Regions from separate parts of the Homo sapiens genome. Here region 2 is linked to region 1. Evidence: promoter capture Hi-C in 16 types of primary human blood cells and fetal thymus (Javierre and others, 2016). All regions are on one chromosome and are shown on one strand. The core of a region is centred on a gene start or on the middle of the fragment in contact, and the rest is flanking DNA. Distances in the headings are between cores, read along the strand shown.

Region 1 (5,416 bases), core at 2,060-4,559:
GCAGGGTGAAGAATCGAGAAAAGCCAGAGGGAATGTGGGGAGACAAGCTGGTACAGGACTGCGGCAGGCTGAATGAAGGTGGTGGTTTGCACTTGGGTGTCCACGACAATGAAGAGATGTGAAAGATGCCCAGGAGACAACCTCACCTGGGCTTAAGGATTCACTGGGTGTTGGGGTGTGATAAGGGTCAAGGAGGAATCCTAGGTACAACGGAAGAGGTTCCAGCTGGGGTTGGGAAGTGGGGTTGTTTGGTTTTGTGCATGTTGAATTGGAGGAGACTGAGTGGTATTAAGAAACACTGTCACGCAGCTAGCTGAACGTACGAGTCTAGCTGAGAAAGGGTCAAGTTGGAGAAAGGTAGGAGTCAAGAGCACAGGGCTGGAACTTAAAAGCTGTGCGTGTGAATCTGTGCCTTGTGCTAGATGAAGGGGCGCAATGGAGAATAAAATGGGAACAGATGCCGAGCTTTGAGAATCTCCAATATTAAGGAGCCTGGGAGAGGAGGGTGAGCCAGAATGGCAGCAGGAAAAGCAGAAGAGTCAGGGATGGTCACAGAAGCCAAGGGAAGACAGTGTTTGTAGAGTGAAATGGGGGCAGCAGTTTCAGATGCCGCTGAGAGATTGAGCAAGACAAAGCCTGAAAAAGTCTCATTCCTGGTTTTTGTTTTAGCAGAGATGAAGAGGGAAGCCATACTGGCTGAGGAGTGAGAGACAAATAATAGAGGCATTGAATATGGCAGTTCTTTAAAGTTTGCCTGTCGAAAGGGATAAGGGATTGGACAATAACTGGAAACTGAAGGGGAACGTGGGGTCAAAGAAGATTCTTTTTTTCTCTTTTGTGATGGGAGACTTGAACATGCTTCAAAACCATGGCAAAGAGCCAGCTGAGATGGAACAGGTGATCATACAGGAGAGGGAATGTATACCTGACAGGGTAGAGTTTTTGGCGAGTGGAAAGCGATGGGATCCAAAGCACGGAGAGGGAGTGGCCTTGGTTAGGAGGAGGAAGGAAGGTAGGAACAGATATAAGTAAGGCTTGCAGTTTTGGGAGCTGAAGAATGAGGGGATTCCCATGTGACAGCTTCAAGCTTCTCTATGAAGTGACAGCACAAGGGCGTGGTGGGAGATCAAATCTGAGGAAAATGGTCATTTATGAAATGCAATCTCCTACAGACCCTCAGCTAACCGTGGCAATCCTACTCTGTTACTTTGGTTAATTGGGGTTTTACCTGATGGCAAAAGAGAAAAGATGGGGCTAGGAGTTTAAGAGAGTGGCAAGGGTAGGGCCGGGCGCAGTGGCTCACGCCTTTAATCCCAGCACTTTGGAAGGCCGAGGCAGGCAGATTACCTGAGGTCAGGAGTTTGAGACCAGCCTGGCCAACATGGTGAAACCCCATCTCTACTAAAAATACAAAAATTAGCTGGGCATGGTGGCGTACACCTGTAATCCCAGCTACTCAGGCCGAGGCAGGAGAATTGCTTGAGCCCAGAGATGGAGGTTGCAGTGAGCCGAGATCTTGCCACTGCACTCCAGCCTGGCCGACAGAGTAAGGCTCTGTCTTAAAAAAAAAAAAAACAACAAAAAAAGAGAGATTGGCTAGGGGCCTTAGCTCCTTGAGGGCAGGGACCTGTCACATTGATCGCGGTATCAGCACCCAGGTACTTACTATTCAAAATGATCAGCATACGGATGATCATTTGTCTGCATCTCAGTTTGCCTCTTTTGGTGCTTCTCTAAAAAATAAAAAAGGAAGAGCTTAAACTCCTACATGATTCCTGTCTTTGCGCTGGGAAGAAGGCTCTGGGTTCTTTTGTTCTTCAGGACAGTCCCTTGTAAAGCTCTTGCCATAGTTCTGTTCCAGGGGCACTGTCATATTTATACCTAACAAAGCTAAGGGGTGTCTTTACATTTTTAGCTTGTTAGCAGGATGCTTATATGGCCTTGCTGACCCGGTTTAAAAGTTGCAATTTGCAAAATACATACTGAAAATACTGCACTTTTACCTATGGAAGTTGTAATTTATATAAGGAAATTGTAATTTATATAATCCTTTAAAAAACTTACTCATACGAAATAACAGAGAACGGGGAAATACCATTAAGACTGTCATGCTCAAGTGGGGGAGGGGCAGACTCAGGGAAACCAATTAGGAAGCAAGTAAAATAATCCACGCACCAGATGATGGGGGCCTGGACCAAGGTGGTGACAGTGGCGGTTGAGAGAAATGGTAGAATTGTGAATCTATTCTGGGTGCATTTTGAAGGCAGTGCTGACAGACTGAAGGTGAGGAAGAGAAAAACAGGACTCAAACAGGATGCAAGACTCGGGCAACTGGAGGATGGAATTTCCAGCAACTATGATGGATTAAGATTGTGGGAGGACAGGCTTGGCTTGGGGAATTATTGAGCGCTATCTTGGACGAGCTGTGTTTGAGATGCCGTAGACATCCAAGTAGGGATGTGGCAGGCAGCTAAATGCAGGGATCTGGTGTTCAGGGGAGGGGCGAGGGCTGGGAATGCACACTTGGGGCTCACTGGAATTCAGATAGGCTCTGAGTACAGGCGACTGGATGAGTTCATCTAGGGATTGAGTGTAGACAGAAAAAAGGCTCAAGCTCACATTCAGCCGTGAAAACTGGTCTCTGAAAAAAGTTAACCGTTGGCTTAAGTGTGGCAACGAAACGTTAACACGCTGAGGGGAGGGTGTGGATAAAGAGCCCCGAGGCTGGGTGAGTGGGGGACAAACACAGACAGAGAAGACATTTCAAAAGATTTAGATTCCTACGAGATAGGGAGATGCCAGCGCTAAGGTTAGAAAGAAAAACTAATCCAAAGCAAAACAGCAAGTAAGCAGAGGCAAAATCGGAGGTCAGATAGAAGATTCAGATAGAAAAACCCCAAAGTTCCCTCGGTGGGGCGGCGGTGAGATCGGCCTCCGCCCCCTCGCCAGACCCAGGCGCGGCCCCGGGAGCGCTAGGTCACCTCGGCCCAGGCCGTCCCCCTGCCCAGCGGGCCTGAGAGTACGTGTGTCGCCGGGGCGCCCGGTCACTGCCGAGCCGGGGTAGCTGTTCCTTGGCAAACTGTGCCGCGAGGAGGAAACGGCGGGGCGCCAGCGAGGCAGGCAGGGGCGAGGACTGAGTGACCGGCGATACTGGAAGCCCAGAAAGAGCGTAGCAGGAGGGTCCGGAAGGGCCCAGAGCTGGGGCTGTAACAGGGTAACCGGCTGAGGGGGACGACGGCAGCAGCGGGGCCGTTACCTGCTCCGCGCTGTTCCCACGACTGCGCCAACGCCGCAGCGCCGGCGCGTCCCCATGGAAACCCGCGCGCGGGGCCTCCTGGGAAGCGCCGGCCTGCGGGGGCTGGGCGCGCGCATGCGCACTCGGGCAGCAGGAGCCGCGGCGGGGAGGGGCGTCTTGGGCCTGGAGGTCAGTGTGGCCTCGCGTTTGTCTTCGGTGACGGGAAGTGAGTTTCTTGTGTAGACGTCTGTAAACGATCCTCCTGCCGTCCCTGTTCGGCGCCCGGGACCCTGCCTTCCCGCGTGGCCGCACCGAGACGAGGGAGCCTGTCACGCGCTCTGGCGCTCTCCTGACCTCTTAAGGCTCTGTCAGTCTTAGGTAACTTGAGTCAGTAGGTGGGTGTAGACGCCTGGTCAATTCCTGGGAAGCACAGTTCCCCTATTAACCCCTTGTCATAAAGACGATTTTTTTTTTTTTTTTGTAAAACAAAATCTGATGACAAAACAATGCATGTTTGGCATAGAGAATTTAGAAATGTACAGGCAAGTCCAAAGCAAAAGTCAAAATCACCTAGATGATGGAGTTATAGATGTTTTTTAATGACAGCATAGGAATTTGGCATAATTTAGGAAGACTTACATTGTTTCCTTTTATTTATTTACTTTTTTTCCTGCATCAAAGCCATGTTGAATATCCTTGCAGATGAATCTTTGAGGTCACCCCTGACTGTTTCCTTAGGATAAATTCCTACAAGCGAGGTTGCAGGGCCAAAGCATATGCTCACTTTGAGGCTTTCTAAAGGTAGAGGGAAACTGCCTTCCAGTAAGTGTCCCGATACTTGGCCCGCATTGGAAATTCTCTTTTTTCTTAAAATTTTTTTGCCCATTTTATTGTCAAAAATTGGCATCTTTAATTGTATTCACTTCCTTTTTAGTAGGAAGAATAGACTTTTTCCCATATCTTGAGTGCCATTTGTCCTTATTGTGTGATTTGCATTTTCCTGTCTTTTGTCCATTTTAAAACTTGACATTCATCTTTGTAAAAATGGGTTTTGTAAGGACTTTTGATGCTTGAAAACTTGGCTTGTGATATACGTTGCAAATATTTCCTCAATTTGTCAGTTACCTTTAATTTTGTTTACAGTGTATTTTGGTATTTGTGTAGAGTCAAGCTTATTACATTTCTCTATAGTTTCTGCATTTGGTTTTTATATAAAAGGAGAAACGGGTGTTTTTTTTCAAATTGACTTTAATCCTACTTTGGTAGAAGTGGGTTAGGACAAGCTTTCTCTCCATATCACCATTTCTTCCTCTAGAAATGCATGACCCACCCTGAGTTTTGGTGGGCCATGCATTTCTAGAACTCCTTAGGTAGGGAATTATCCGTATAAGATGGGTGCCGGTTGTTTTTGCTGGTGGTGGTGGGCGGGGCAACATCTCCAGGTAGGCAAACATTAGACAAATGTCACTCTAGACTTGACATTATGGAAAGATGGGCTGATGCTTGGTGGGTGGTGGTGGCCCCATGACAGTAACGAGAGCGGAGTTTTGCCATTGCGGGAGCATCCAACCCTGGAGCTCATGACTGGAGGAATTGAAAGGTAGAGTTTCCTGAGAATGGTTTCCTCCTCTTTTCTACCAGCTTTTCCCAGTCTGTAGACATGATAAGTCACTGCAAATCTGCCCTTGAATCTTTCTTTGCTTTCGCTTTTGCTTTTTTTTTTTTTTTTTTTTGAGACGTATCACTCTATCGCTCAGGCTGGAATGCAGTGGCGCCATCCCAGCTCACCACAACCTCCGCTTCCTGGGTTCAGGTGATTCTCCTGCATCAGCCTCCTGAGTAGCTGGGATTACAGGTGTGAGTCACAACACCCGGCTAATTCTTTTTGTATTTTTAGTAGAGATGGGGTTTTGCGATGTTGGCTAGGCTGGCCTTGAACTCCTGACCTCAAGTGATCTGCCCGCCTCGGCCTCCCAAAATGTTGGGATTTCAGGCATAAGCCACCGTGCCTGGCCTTTGCTTTTGCTTTCGAAGGGGTGTTCTTTTCTGTGTACACAATGGAAGGAGAAGAGCCATGGCCTTTCACTATTCTGGGGCCATCTCCATCATGCCACATAAAAAGCATAGCCTTTATTTCTCTATATTAGGTTCCTAGGTTCCTAGGGATGTCATAACAGACTA
Region 2 (5,416 bases), core at 1,060-3,559, 610 kb before region 1:
TTTTCATGTGTTTTTTGGCTGCATAAATGTCTTCTTTTGAGAAGTGTCTGTTCATGTCCTTCGCCCACTTTTTGATGGGGTTGTTTGTTTTTTTCTTGTAAATTTGTTTGAGTTCATTGTAGATTCTGGATATTAGCCCTTTGTCAGATGAGTAGGTTGCGAAAATTTTCTCCCATTCTGTAGGTTGCCTGTTCACTCTGATGGTAGTTTCTTTTGCTGTGCAGAAGCTCTTTAGTTTAATTAGATCCCATTTGTCAATTTTGTCTTCTGTTGCCATTGCTTTTGGTGTTTTAGACATGAAGTCCTTGCCCATGCCTATGTCCTGAATGGTAATGCCTAGGTTTTCTTCTAGGGTTTTTATGGTTTTAGGTCTAACGTTTAAGTCTAATCCATCTTGAATTGATTTTTGTATAAGGTGTAAGGAAGGGATCCAGTTTCAGCTTTCTACATATGGCTAGCCAGTTTTCCCAGCACTATTTATTAAATAGGGAATCCTTTCCCCATTGCTTGTTTTTCTCAGGTTTGTCAAAGATCAGGTAGCCGTAAAAAAGAGAATTTTAGACCAATATCCTTGATGAACATTGATGCAAAAATCCTCAGTAAAATACTGGCAAACCAAATCCAGCAGCACATCAAAAACCTTATCCACCATGATCAAGTGGGCTTCATCCCTGGGATGCAAGGCTGGTTCAATATACGCAAATCAATAAATGTAATCCAGCATATAAACAGAGCCAAAGACAAAAACCACATGATTATCTCAATAGATGCAGAAAAGGCCTTTGACAAAATTCAACAACCCTTCATGCTAAAAACTCTCAATAAATTAGGTATCGATGGAACATATTTCAAAATAATAAGAGCTATCTATGACAAACCCACAGCTAATATCATACTGAATGGGCAAAAACTGGAAGCATTCCCTTTGAAAACTGGCACAAGACAGGGATGCCCTCTCTCACCACTCCTATTCAACATAGTGTTGGAAGTTCTGGCCAGGGCAATTAGGCAGGAGAAGGAAATAAAGGGTATTCAATTAGGAAAAGAGGAAGTCAAATTGTCCCTGTTTGCAGATGACATGACTGTATATCCAGAAAACCCCATTGTCTCAGCCCAAAATCTCCTTAAGCTGAGAAGCAACTTCAGCAAAGTCTCAGGATACAAAATCAATGTGCAAAAATCACAAGCATTCCTATACACCAACAACAGACAAACAGAGAGCCAAATCATGAGTGAACTCCCATTCACAATTGCTTCAAAGAGAATAAAATACCTAGGAATCCAACTTATAAGGGATGTGAAGGACCTCTTCAAGGAGAACTACAAACCGCTGCTCAAGGAAATAAAAGAGGATACAAACAAATGGAAGAACATTCCATGCTCATGGGTAGGAAGAATCAATATCGTGAAAATGGCCATACTGCCCAAGGTAATTTACAGATTCAATGCCATCCCCATCAAGCTACCAATGCCTTTCTTCACAGAATTGGAAAAAACTACTTTAAAGTTCATATGGAACCAAAAAAGAGCCCGCATCACCAAGTCAATCCTAAGCCAAAAGAACAAAGCTGGAGGCATCACACTACCTGACTTCAAACTACACTACAAGGCTACAGTAACCAAAACAGCATGATACTGGTACCAAAACAGAGATATAGATCAATGGAACAGAACAGAGCCCTCAGAAATAACACCCTACCAGCTTTCTTTCCTGATAGGGCTCCAGAACTCCACATGGTGGACACTTGTCACTGGGAATGATTCAGGCTTTAATGGGGCTGCTGGGCGGGAGCACAGGGCTTGAGGGCCAGAGGAAGTGGAGCAGGAACTGTGGCAAGAGGTAGAGGGAGCAAGCTGCCCCATCACCTCTCCTGAAATATCAAGCAAGTTAACAGGAGGATTTGTTGTGATTTGGAGATGGACCTTGGATTATCACTGTCACTGGGTCTGTCAGGCACTATTTGTGACCTTGGGTATGCAATTTAATCACTCTCTGCCTCAGTTTCCCCTCCATAAAGCCAGGTCATTTGTGGCTGTTGGGGGGATTGATCTATTGGGGGTATAAGATTGTGTAAAGTCAGTAACCTGGGATGGGGGTGCTATTTGAACAGAGCACGCCAAGGAAGGTGTGTTTGAGCCAGGGGATCTGCAAAGAAAATATGGATCCCAGACAATCATGTCTCCATTTTCATCAGAAGAAATCCAGGGGCAGAGTTCAGTGATGAAACAAGTACTTAACTGAACCAAGACTCAAACCCTGGTCTTCTGTTTTCTGGTGTTGTCCTCTGGCCAAAATAACCCTGTCATGTTTGGTTGAAGTCATTATAAATGCTGCCCCAGATGCTACCTAGGGCTCCTTCAAGTTTCTAGTTCCTCCTTCCACAAACCAGAGGCCACAGCCCTTGATTTGAATTTTAAATTATCAGGAACCTCCTACCCAAAGAACACACAGCCCTCATTTACAGCAGCTGCTGGCAGCTAGCTGAGTTCGAACAGATGCAAGAATCTCATAATCTGGGCCAGATATTAATCTGTCTTTTCTGTAACAGCAAAACAGAAGGGTGAGTCTTGAAGCAGTGCAGGGGGAAACCCCTTATTGTGCAACTCTTTTGTAACTCCTGGGCGGAGTCTGGACATGTGACTTCTGCTTGAAATTTAACATTAGGGGAAAGACCATTTTTGGTCATAGCTGAGGTGATGACATCTTGGCAACTGGAATGGACATGACCTCTGTTCCATGTACTATGAGTAACTGCCCCCTCCCCATTTCTCAAAGTCATGTTCAGATGGCAAAACTGCCTGGGATTACCACATCTGACTCTTGCTAGCTGTTTCTGTGTCTATGGCTTCATACTGTCCAGACATAGACCTGGGGCTCAGCACACATGTATGTTTGAGTGGCATAAGGTCAGAAGCACAGATCCAGCAAAGACTGTGGCCCGGAGGAAGGTGGGTTGGTTGGAGGAAAGAAAGTGGAGGTGGGAGCAAACGAAGATAAGTAAACAAAAAAATGAGCTCTTAAGCAAAAAAGATTGCCTGTCTGCTGTAGCCTGTAAAGCTCTGATGAGAAACACTTTTATGATTTGCTGGTAAACTCCACCCAATTTGGTTCTGGAAGAGGTTATTTTTCATTGCAGTGTAAGCATGTAATTAGTTAATTGGGAAATATGGCGCCATTTTCAAAGCTCACTTTCATCTGTCATCTCACTTACACCTCCCTGTGACCCTGGGAGATTGGTTTTATTATGCCCATTTTACAGATGTGGAAACTGAAGCTCGGAGAGGTGAACCCCCTAAAAAGAAATTGGAGAGGCTTATCCTGACTCATCCGTGGTCCCTGATTCCTTGTGCCTGAGATGCAGACTGTGGCTTGGGAATAGGGGAGGGCTCAGAGGGCTGGAGCTCAGCTGAGTGGCCGGATGTTCCCTCACAGGGTACCCTCCTTTGGCTTCCTGTTGACCCTAGTAGTTGTCAATAGTGCTGCAGGTGCTCCACGCCTTCCCACCCTCTGGATGAAGCTCATCCTAAGGAATTAGCATCTCATTTCTAATTCTCAGGTCCTCAGGAATCAGACTTGTATTTTGGGTCAAATTTGCATACCTTGGGGCTTCTGTTTTCTCAAGCTATGTATGGACCCCAGAGCAAATCCCAACCATGGTTCAATATCAGCCTCTGGGAATCTGCAGATCACTGGAAGCCAGGCTGCCCACGCTTTCTGGAAGCCACTTCCTAGTGAAGGAGCCCTGGAGGAAAGAGGCAATGGTATAGGAGTCTCCCTAAAGTGAGAAGTGTGGAGCCCAGCACTTCAACTATGTCTGTGGGTGGAGCCAAAATAACCAGTTGCTCCTGATCGCTGCATGTCAGCAATTGTATCACAACAAGAGGCCACAGGGCATCACCCTACCCAACACTGTGATGGGGGCCGGGGTCACATGTGCTTAAGTGTCTCTGTAAATCAGCCCTTCAGTTGGGATTAAGACAGTTCAGGATCCCAAGAACACACATGCACACACACAACCCACTTGCACATACATGTGTGCAGTCACACTTCCAGAGACACACATAGACATACATATGTATACACACATGTGCGTGTGTGCACACAGGTATTCACATGCACACACACACGCACACTTATACACTAACACACATGTGCATATGTGCACGCATGCACACACACACACACACCCCACTCCTTTTGCTTGCTTCACCTTTTCTGTCTCTGCTCCTCCTGGTGGTCATCACCTCCCATGCCCTGTCTCCTGTATCAATGCCCCAGGACTACCTACTATAACAAAGTGTCACAAAGTGGGTGGTTTAAAGCAACAGAAATGTATCCTTTCACAGTTCTGGAGGCTAGAAATCCAAGATCATGGTGTCTATAAGGTTGGTTCCTTTTAAGTGCAGTGAGGAAAGAGCTGGCTCCAGCCCTCTCTCCCATTGGCTGGTAGATGATCATCTTCTCCCTGTGTCTCTTCATGTCACTTTCCCTCCTTGCCCCTCTCTGTGTCCAAATTCCCCCTTTTTATAAGGATACCAGTCATATTGTATTAGGGCCAGATCTAATTATTTCATTTTAACTCAATTACCTCTGTAAGTAACCTACCTCCAAAGACAGTGTCATTTTGAGGTTCTGGGGGTTAGGACTTCAACATATCAATTTGAGGGCACACAATACAGCCCATATACACCTCAACACTAAATAAGTTACATGGTAGTTCTATTTTTACTTCTTTGAGAAATCTTCATCCTGTTTTTCGTAGTGGCTGCACTGATTTTTACTTCCATCAACCGTGTGTCCCCGTCTTTTGATATGTGTGTATGTCATATGTCTTCTTTTGATAAGTGTGTATTCATGTTTTGACCACTTTTTAATGGGATTATTATTATTTGTTGTTGTTTTGACTGTTGACTTTGTTGAGGTTTTTGTATATTCTGGATATTAGTTCCTTGTCCAAATGAATAGTTTGCAGATATTTTCTCCCATCCAAAAGGGCATCTCTTCCCTTTGTAGATTGTTTCCTTTGCTGTGCAGAAGCATTTTAGTTTAATATAGTCTCATTTCTCTATTTCTGTTTTTGTTGCCTGTGTTTTTGAGGTCTTAGCCATAAATTGTTCGCCTAGCGCAATGTCCTGAAGTGTTTTTGCTATGTTTTCTTCTACCAGTTTATGTTTTCAGGTCTTATGCTCAAGTTTTTAATTCACCTTGGGTTGATTTGTGTACATGGTAAGAGATAAAGGTTCAGTTTCATGCATCTATGTGTGAGTATCTAATTTTCCCAGCATCATTTATTGAAGAGGGTGTCTTTTTCCCATTGCATGCTCTTCATTCTTTTATGGAAAATCAATTGACTGCAAGTATGTGGATTTATTTTTGGTTTGTCTATTCCATTGGACTATGTGTCTATTTTTATGC

What was found. Contacts are between HindIII fragments. The CHiCAGO score rates a contact against its expected background, and 5 or more counts as called.
Region 2: a fragment that was not itself captured here is called in contact with the fragment with the promoter of LCA5L in region 1 in 1 of 17 cell types (naive CD8 T cells); the score reaches 6.0 in naive CD8 T cells.

The regions. Positions count from the first base shown.
Region 1 is chr21:39,442,469-39,447,884 of GRCh38, forward strand. LCA5L (lebercilin LCA5 like) reads right to left here and starts at 3,310. Exons shown (of 11, transcript NM_152505.4): 1 at 3,257-3,310; 2 at 1,667-1,733. All of the region lies in intron 8 of GET1-SH3BGR (GET1-SH3BGR readthrough), which reads left to right. MIR6508 (microRNA 6508) reads left to right here and starts at 4,542; the gene lies at 4,542-4,601. It also overlaps a transcript of SH3BGR not described here. RefSeq lists a silencer at 3,221-3,480. The HindIII fragment of the contact is 3,319 bases long and covers 1,086-4,404 here.
Region 2 is chr21:38,829,086-38,834,501 of GRCh38, forward strand. No RefSeq gene overlaps it. Among named protein-coding and RNA genes, the nearest start is that of ETS2, 26 kb to the left of the region's middle. RefSeq lists enhancers at 2,256-3,455, 2,445-2,634. The HindIII fragment of the contact is 9,742 bases long and covers 1-5,416 here.